Linked DNA regions of Homo sapiens: region 2 is linked to region 1. The links are contacts of gene promoters, found by promoter capture Hi-C in human tissues and cell types (Jung and others, 2019). All regions are on one chromosome and are shown on one strand. Each heading gives the region's core, a stretch centred on a gene start or on the middle of the fragment in contact. The rest is flanking DNA. Distances are from core to core; before and after follow the strand shown.

Region 1 (4,434 bases), core at 843-3,342:
CTTAGATTTACAAACTGGTTCAAAAGACTATATTACAAAGGCATGCATTATTAGAAATATTTTATTGTTTAGTTTCTTAGATTGGCTAGGATACACTGAAAAAAGAAGAGGAAGCTGGAGAAAAGGGGGAAAGAGCATATGTACTGGTAATGATAACACCTAAGTTATAGGGGTTGGTGGGGGGGTGGTGAAACCTAAAAAATCCAGAGCCTTCATGAGCGAAGTGCCGAAAATTGATGAGGCTCTCTGGTGTGGGATAAAAACCACCACAAAAGCTAACTTCTCAATTTTGTCTCAGAAATTCTGCTACCATAAAGATTTATGGAAAGAAAGTGAAAGTTATTTAGTTCATTTTAATATGCTAATTACCTTGCATCGTGCACAGCTTTGATTAAAATGCAACATTCCTGAAGTTCTTATTGAAATTAATGTGTCAAATTTATGTTCAAACTGAGCACTGGTCTACCTTGTTTATGTATAGTGGGTTCTTCCTGAAGATCCATTATTGATGCTATTATGCTCCTTGTATCATTACATCATTGTTGAGAAGGGTGTACAGGAATAGGCTATGAGAACAACAAAGGAATTGTATATGAAAAACTAAAATGAATGAATAAACAGAGTCGTCTGCAGTATAGAGTGGGAAGGCAAATAATTTCAATGAGGTTCTGGAGGGCCAAGGAAAACATTGTATCCCCTAAAACGGAAGATAAAGTTGCTAAATGTGTGGATTACAATAGGGGATTCTAGGCAGTTTGAAGTTTCAATAAATGCAAGATTTAGAGAAGAGGTTCTCAAACTTTGTGGTCTTAGGATTCCTTTACACTCCTTTAAAAGTTGAGGACCCCAAAGAACTTTTATGTGCATTACTGATACTGATATTTATATCAGAAATTAAAAGTGAGAAATTTTAAGAGTATTTCATTTAAAAACAATAAAGCAATCAAATATTAACAAAAAATAATTTTTATATGAAAAATAACTACTCCCCCTTGCCCCCAAATCGAGTTTTTGCAAATCTCTTTAACGTCTGGTTTAACCGCAGATGACTGGATTCTCCTATCTGCTTCTATTTTCAGTCTGTTTCCTTATCACATGTCACGTAGCCTCCGGAAAACCCCACTGTACACTTGTGAGAGAATGAGAATGCAAAAGGCAGTCTTGACATTAATATGGAAATAGTTTTGACCTTCCCCATGAAAGGGTCTGGGGACCCTCAGACCATACTCTGAGAACAACTTTTTGAGTTAGTATTAGTCAATTCATCATCACTTGAAAATTAGCTATGAGGTTTTACAAGCCTGAGGATTTAATGTGATTTACTTTTTCAGAAAGATGAAACAACGGACGTACTGAGTGTCCTCATTATAACGCATCCAGAGAATGCACAAATATGCCATTTTCATCCGTCAAAAGAACTGAAGCCGAACTGACGGACTGTACATCAGTTACGAGGATGTGGCGGGGGGTTGGGGGGCAAAGGATGACGAGCACCCCCTAAAGGCGCGGAGACCCGCTGGCATAGGAGAAGCAAAACTGTCAGAAGAGGCCGCCGAAGTGGTCTAGAGGAAAAAACTGTTTTTCTTAGGCGGGGAAGGAAAACGGTTACCGGGGGCCGGCGAGTTGCAGGAATTAGGCCTTGACAGGGAGCGTCCGCCGTCTAGGCTGCGGCGAGCGAGGGACCAGGCGACTGGCGCCAGCCCTGAGCGTTCCCAGCACAACGCCGAAGGGGGCGGGGCGGGCCGGGCGCCGGGCACGCGGGCCAGGCCTTCCCCACAACTGATGGGGTTGAAATTTCCTTTCCGGCTCAGCAGGGAGAAAAGATATGGTGGGGTGCTTAACAGAGGAGGTTAGACACCGGCGGGAACCAGAGGAGCCCAAGCGCGGCGCCTGGGCCTCGGGGCTGCAGGAGTCCTCGGTGGGGGTATGGAGGTCGCCGGGGAAGGAGGACGGTTCAGTTGCTAGGCAACCCGGCCTGGACCCGCCTCTCGCTCGCGTTGCTGGGAGACTACAAGGCCGGGAGGAGGGCGGCGAAAGGGCCCTACGTGCTGACGCTAATTGTATATGAGCGCGAGCGGCGGGCTCTTGGGTCTTTTTTAGCGCCATCTGCTCGCGGCGCCGCCTCCTGCTCCTCCCGCTGCTGCTGCCGCTGCCGCCCTGAGTCACTGCCTGCGCAGCTCCGGCCGCCTGGCTCCCCATACTAGTCGCCGGTAACGGATGGGGGCCTGGAAGGGAAGGGGGAACGTGGTGTTGGCTGGGCGGCCTGCGCAGATGGGAGGGCCGGAGGGATGGAGGGACTGGGAGCCGGGAGTCGGGGCCGCTGGCCGCCCGTGGCCTCCGGGGTCGTCCTGTGAGGTCGGACAGGACCGCGGAGTCCGGACCCCGGAGCCTGAGAGGGGCCCCGGGGCCGACCAGCGCTTTTATCGGGGACGGCTGAGGCGACGTAGGGGTTGGCGCGGCCTGGAGGCCTAAGGTTCTCTGAGCTCCACCGTCTTTTCCGCGTGGACCGGAGCGAGGCCGCGGTGACGCCCGGGTGCCCTGAGACTCGGCTGCGCCGCGAGGACCGGGAGGCCCCCGGCGTACGGGCCGGGCCGAGTGCAGAGCCGGCCGCCTCTTGGACACCCCCCTGCTTTTCCCTCAAAAATAATACCAGGAGGGAGGCCGCTGGGAGATGAAAAGAACGGCGGAGGCTGCGAATTCCGACGGGAGGGAGGGGCTGTGGAGGGACGAGTCCCCGAGGCGGGGAGGGGGCGGGGGAGGCTGCGACGCTCCCGGGCTCTCCGCCCATTGGGGGCGGCCGCGCGGGGAGGGGAAACCCCCGGCGGCTTCGCTCCACACGTGGTAATGGGCTTCATGGCCACTGGCTGGGCCTGGTTGGAGACCCTTGCCCTCGGTCTGTGCTTACTTTGAAAGTTGTAGAGACGGTGGAATGTGAAAAGGAAGGGTAAGCGAGTAAGCCCTGTCCCTGGGTTTCAAACTCTTCCCTGCTTCTCTTTGGTCTTAATCTTTTTATTGGTACCAGAGATTGTGGATGTTAGCTGATGATAAGGAAGGGCCTCCACTGCTAGTATTTTAAAAAGTTAACGCGTATATAGCGCTTATATTAACTGTTATTAGCAAAAGGTTGTTATTGTGTTTCCCAGGTACTGTTAGATGGGTGTCTTGATCAGGGTTTTTTATTTGGGGAGTATTGATCCTGATCGATCTAAACCCCTAAACCAAGCTTGTCCAACCCGCGGCCCAGGACGGCTTTAAATGTGGCCCAACACAAATTCATGAGGTTTTTTTTTTTTTTTTTTTTTTGGAAAAAAAAGCTCATCAGCTAGTTAATGTATTTTACGTGTGGCCCAAGACAGTTCTAGTGTGGCCCAGGGAAGCCAAAAGATCGGACCACCCCTGCAAACGGTTCTTAGATGAAAATAAAATGTTTGGCCCTTTATGACTTTAATTGTTCTTGGCTGTCTTATAAATTAGTTCCTTTATTGAAGTCACTAGAATAAGATACTTAACGGTTTCCTTTTTAAGATGGGAGGTGGGATGGAATGAGGTGTTAGTATAAACTTTGCCAAGTTTGTAGCCTGCAACCTTGTCAATGAACCCTACTGCCCTAAAGATCTGGGGGATGGCAGTGTAGGGGGGCTGGGACTGAGGTCCCATCTGGGAAGGCTAGACTTTGAGAGTGCAAAAAGGATGAACCAGGCGCAGGATGTCCTCAAGGAGCCCGTATTTTAGACGGTCACTGATCAGTTTTGAAACAACTACATTTTAAAAATCTCACTGCTACATTTGAAGATATCCCACTGCTGCATTTTAAAATTTACACTGCTTGCCTGGTTTCACAAGAGCTGTAAAATGAAATTTGGCCTTTTGAAAATAGGTGGATTCAAAACATCTTTGGAAACGAGTATCTGGGTCCTCTTTTTTTGGTCAGCTTAAATTAATACTCCTATACTTTGGAAGTAATATACATTACCTTTGATTGAATAAGGGAAAAACCTTTTATGTATAGGGTACCATTTAAAAATCGAAGGGAAGTAAATGACTTTTACAGTTATTTTCAAGGCACTCTTGTGTTTCAAGCTTGTTTGAAGTTGCCCAAGTTTAAATAAATGGCCTAAATCTATAGTTTAGTTCTAAGAATACTGTCCTTTGGAGAATGTATGGAACTAAACCCTGGTAGGTGGACTTGGACATCTTCTGTCATAAAACCTGACTTTCATAGATTCTCCAAGTCAACATTATGTTAGTAAATAGAAATTTAAAAGTTTTCACTATACCAATTTGAATATCTTTCTAAATTTTATCTGCTACAAAGTGCCTATTTTTATATTAGGCCCATTGATTTGCAGAATTATAAAGCTAATACTGAATATGGTAAATTACTGCACTTGGCCTTTAATGAGATTTTTGAAACGAATACCTGTACCATAACTA
Region 2 (4,434 bases), core at 1,396-3,895, 1.9 Mb before region 1:
CCATGTATATCCAGCAAGAAGAATAGGAAAATAAACAATTTCCTAAAAGGGTCATAACTACCAAGAAATTCTGGGCAAGAAATTCTAGACAATAAATTTCACATGGAAGATACAGAAAAAGAGTGAGGTAAAGCAATGTCAAATGATATTCCGTATCACTTCCAGAGTCAACATGCTTTACGTAAAATAATTTTATTTCCTTTATTTTTTCAGCTACTATTCTTGTGTCTTCTTTATTTAAATTGCTTAAACCAAACTCTAGTAAATATTATTTCTGGCACTTTTCAGAATCCATCTCTTTGTTGCAAACATCCACACAAAAAATAATAACACATAAAACACGATGTCATCCACTTTGTTCTTCTATATGCTTACAAACATCCAAGAAACTTAGCCTATAGAGATTTATTTTCCACTATGAGTCTTATACAATCTCACTTGATATAACCAAAAGCCAAGATGAGCTTAAAGAACAGTCAAATATCTGCATTATTTTATAATAAAAAATATCCCCCATCACTTCATAAGCTTTATATTTTATGCTATGTTTTTAGTAAAACTATAGCTTTTTAAAATTTATTTAAAAATTCACTGATGAGTGAAAATCTTCCAAAGGGAACCAAATTTACATGGTTGTATAGAGAAATAAATATTGTTTATTATGGAGTAACAAACAAAATCCATATGAGGGTTGGTTGGTAGATGAAAGAGAAGTGATTTCTGAACAGTTGAACAACTGACAGTAAGTGGGAGGTGGTCCATAAATGTACTTTGGAACATTATTTTAATTGTTTGAGTCATTTCTAATTACCAAACTCAAGGTTAACTGAATGTTAGTAGGTTTCAAGCTTGACTTCTAAGGTGGACAAAGTTAAATATTTACATTTGTTGACAAGTGTTTATATTTTCAAAGACGATGAAAGGGATTTTCATATCCTCTCTCCTCAAGAAAAATAATCATAACTATTTATGTAATAGAGCTAACTAACCAATACCCCAGTCATTGTTCAGGAACAAATATAGTAGCTTGTATGAAAGTTGTTAAGTGAAACTTCATTCTGTGATCATTTATTTTGATATGTAAACTATGTTAGACTATAGTCTAAATTATTCCTTCAAATACTAGTCTAGTTGTTGCTATGTAGATATTTTAAGGATGTAATAAAAGTCTATAATCAATTGACTTTCAGTAAAGTTTACTTTAGATAATCTGGGTGATCTTGATTCAACTAGTTGAAAGAAAGTTCTTTTGTTTGTTTGTTTGTTTACTTTAGACAGAGTCTCGCTCTGTCACCCAGGCTGGATCTTGGCTCACCGCAACCTCTGCCTCCCTGGTTCAAGCAATTCTCTGCCTCAGCCTCCAGAGTAGCTGGGATTACACGCACCTGTCACCACACCTGGCTGCTTTTTGTATTTTTCATAGAGATGGGGTTTCACCATCTTGGCCAGGCTGGTCTTGAACTCCTGACCTTGTGATACATCCACCTCGGCCTCCCAAAGTGCTGGGAATACAGGCTTGAGCCATCGTGCCTGGCCGAAAGTTTGGCTTTTCAAAAGCAGAACTGAGGCTTCCTTCAGAGGAGAAATTCTACCTGCGTACTGCAATTTCAACTCATGATGAGATTTCTAGCCTGCCCTTCCAGCTGGGCTGCCCTTCAGATTTCATACTTGCCTAACCAGTATGCTCAATCATGCTAAACCAATTCTTCACAATAAATCTCTTGTTATATATCATTTACTTGCTTGACTCCTCTAGTTGAACACTGATTGATATAATTCTATATTGGAAAAAAATAATAATAATGGAAGAGAAAAGGAAGTTGCCATGATTTGGGAGCACTCCACCAGGCTGTGTCTACATATGCCAAAAGACTCAAGCCAGACAAATAATACATGTATGTGCATACACACATACACACACACACTCATGCACACACACACACACACACACACACACATCAAAAACACTATGTTCCCAAACTTCAAACTCCTATGTTTAACAGACCTGAAATTTCTGACAGACTTAATTAATCAAAAATATCAATGAAAGATAACTACATGACAGGAGACTAGGACTCAATAGCACATTCTAAATACTAAAGTCATTTGTAGAAGAAAGTAGTCATGCCACATTACTTACACCAAAGACATTTCACACTGTGATACAGAACAACAATCTTTAGAAAACAAACAAAATACGTCACCCAAAAGATGATAGATGTTGCTTGTCCAAGCAAAACAAGAGTGGTTTTAGTTTCTATTACACAAGTCAAATAATCCCATCACACTGATACAAGCACATGAGTACGTTTTTCAAACTCATGGACAATAATTTGTTAAAAACAAGTTGTATCTACACAAACTAATTGGAAACACATTCCCTACTTCCTTTCCTTACCTGGACTGCATATCTTGCTGGGTTTTGGCCTGGCTGGCTTCCGATGGAGGGGAAGCGTGAGTAACTCGCTGCTGAAGTTCCACCAAGGACTGATAGTACTGTTGTTGATGGTGTTGTTGCTGCTTGTAGCGAGATAAACTGAAAAACAGCCCTAGAATGGCTTTTAAGTTTCCATTTCTTATTTCTGTATGAAATGAAAAATACAAAAAAAGAATCATATGTATTTAATGTCCTTTTTAACAAATTCTAGATGCATTTCTCTTGAAATAAATCTATGAAGACAGAGATACAACTTAATTCTCTCAGTCACAGTTGAATCACAAACAAACCTGAATTTCTGAAACATGTTAACATTTCCAAATAACTTGGAATTTCAGGGAGAGAATAAAAGGATAGAGGGTAAAAAGAACAAAGCACACTCAGAAGTGATATTCTTTGCTGACCTTGAACTACAATTTTTCTCGAGTTAGCTGCTTCTTAGAAATAAATGAGCTCTCTCTTGTGCTAACCATTTGATTTAGCATGTTGATTCCCTCACAAATATACACAGCTGTTGCCAGCATAGCAGTGGCTACGAACTGGAGAAAGAAAGCCACTTAAATGTTGGTTGTCCTGCATTTATAAATATTGATGATGTGGGTGCACCTCCTAATACCAACTGGATTTGTTGCAATCAACTTTCTTTCTAAATCACCCACTCACCAACTCATTTATACATATTTATGTATGTATATATCCTCCAAATATATATCCATATATATCAAAATGTATGTGTAGGTATATCTTCCAAAAGCAGACATATCAATTTTTAATGTTCCAATTCTTTTATTTTTAATTTATGCTATATATTAATAAATAAGGAGGATTAGCTTACGTCAGATAACATAATTGAATAAGCAGAAATCCTTGTTCTAACAGATGAAGTTGCTGTGTAAGATTTTCAAATATTGAATAAAAAAATTCAATTCACAATGTAGGGTACACATAAGCCTACATTTTTCTCCTGTAGTTATAACTTAAAAAAATAGGAAAAGAGAAGGATGTAAAGCTTGAAAATAAGCTACACAACCTGTAATCATATTTTAAATAAAACTTGATGTTGGCAATAAAATGCATCCTCCTCTGAGATTAAGGTTTTATGTCCCCTTTTGGAGTTTAGGAAAATTAACCAACTCTTTGGATTTCTTGCTCTCTGATGGTTTATCATATAACTCAAACTATGCAGTAAAATAATTAATATAAAATGACCCTCTGAGTTGTTCTATTTTTCCCCCAAACATTTCTCATAGTTTTCGTCATATTGAAGAGTTGGCTTCATCAATCTGAGGCTACAGTGAGAGAGTGTTAATTTTCTCCTATAAACCTGAAAGATTTTGTTTAAAGAGTCTTTAAAAAATTATTGTTTTATTATTTTGCATGTTTAACTAATTTAGAGAGTAAATTTTGAGCATTCATGTATATTTTAAAGATGAATGAAAATCAATAGGCTGATATTAATAAAGGTTTTCATAAGGAAGAGACATAAAAAGTGAATAAATGGCAGCATTTCTAGCCTGTAACTACTTAGCAACATATTATCCTGGGGAATTTTACTCAAATGTTATTCGAAGTTACAGAACTACCAGTTAGGTTTGAACCTAAGCTTCTTGGTCATTAAATGTGTAATTTAATTATATATCATAACAAGCAAATATAAAAGAAATTTAAATATCAGTGTTCTCAAGTATGGCAAATTTTATCTTAAGTGTAGCAAGCTTTTGCAAACTTTTGCCACCTTTATAAGTGAAAGTAAAATAAACTCAGAAAAAAGATCAATGTCAAAATTTGTTCAAGTTTTCCCCATTTTGCTCTCTTTCAATTTTAGTGATGATCTTTTGAATCTTTAATGATTTAAAACATTTATATATAACAGTGATTAACGCTGTTAGTTCTAATTATTTAAGACTTCATAGTGACTTAAACTTACCAACTATTTTGACTATTTCTACCAACTTGAATATATTATAGAAATGTTATTGATAAAATAATATTTTAAG

What was found. Contacts are between HindIII fragments. The study calls those that stand out against the background at their distance.
Region 2: a fragment that was not itself captured here is called in contact with the fragment with the promoter of NAP1L1 in region 1 in 1 of the 25 tissues and cell types used here (hippocampus).

What each region holds. Positions count from the first base shown.
Region 1 is chr12:76,082,343-76,086,776 of GRCh38, reverse strand. NAP1L1 (nucleosome assembly protein 1 like 1) reads left to right here and starts at 2,092. Exons shown (of 15, transcript NM_004537.7): 1 at 2,092-2,210. It overlaps LOC124902970 (a long non-coding RNA gene), which reads right to left and starts at 1,692. Exons shown (of 2, transcript XR_007063379.1): 1 at 1,610-1,692; 2 at 44-566. RefSeq lists silencers at 1,658-1,817, 2,258-2,337, 2,478-2,527, 2,598-2,657, 2,708-2,777 and an enhancer at 1,821-2,362. The HindIII fragment of the contact is 10,371 bases long and covers 1-3,652 here.
Region 2 is chr12:77,966,667-77,971,100 of GRCh38, reverse strand. It overlaps NAV3 (neuron navigator 3), which reads right to left. Exons shown (of 40, transcript NM_001024383.2): 5 at 2,399-2,582. Among named protein-coding and RNA genes, the nearest start is that of NAV3, 140 kb to the right of the region's middle. The HindIII fragment of the contact is 3,913 bases long and covers 689-4,434 here.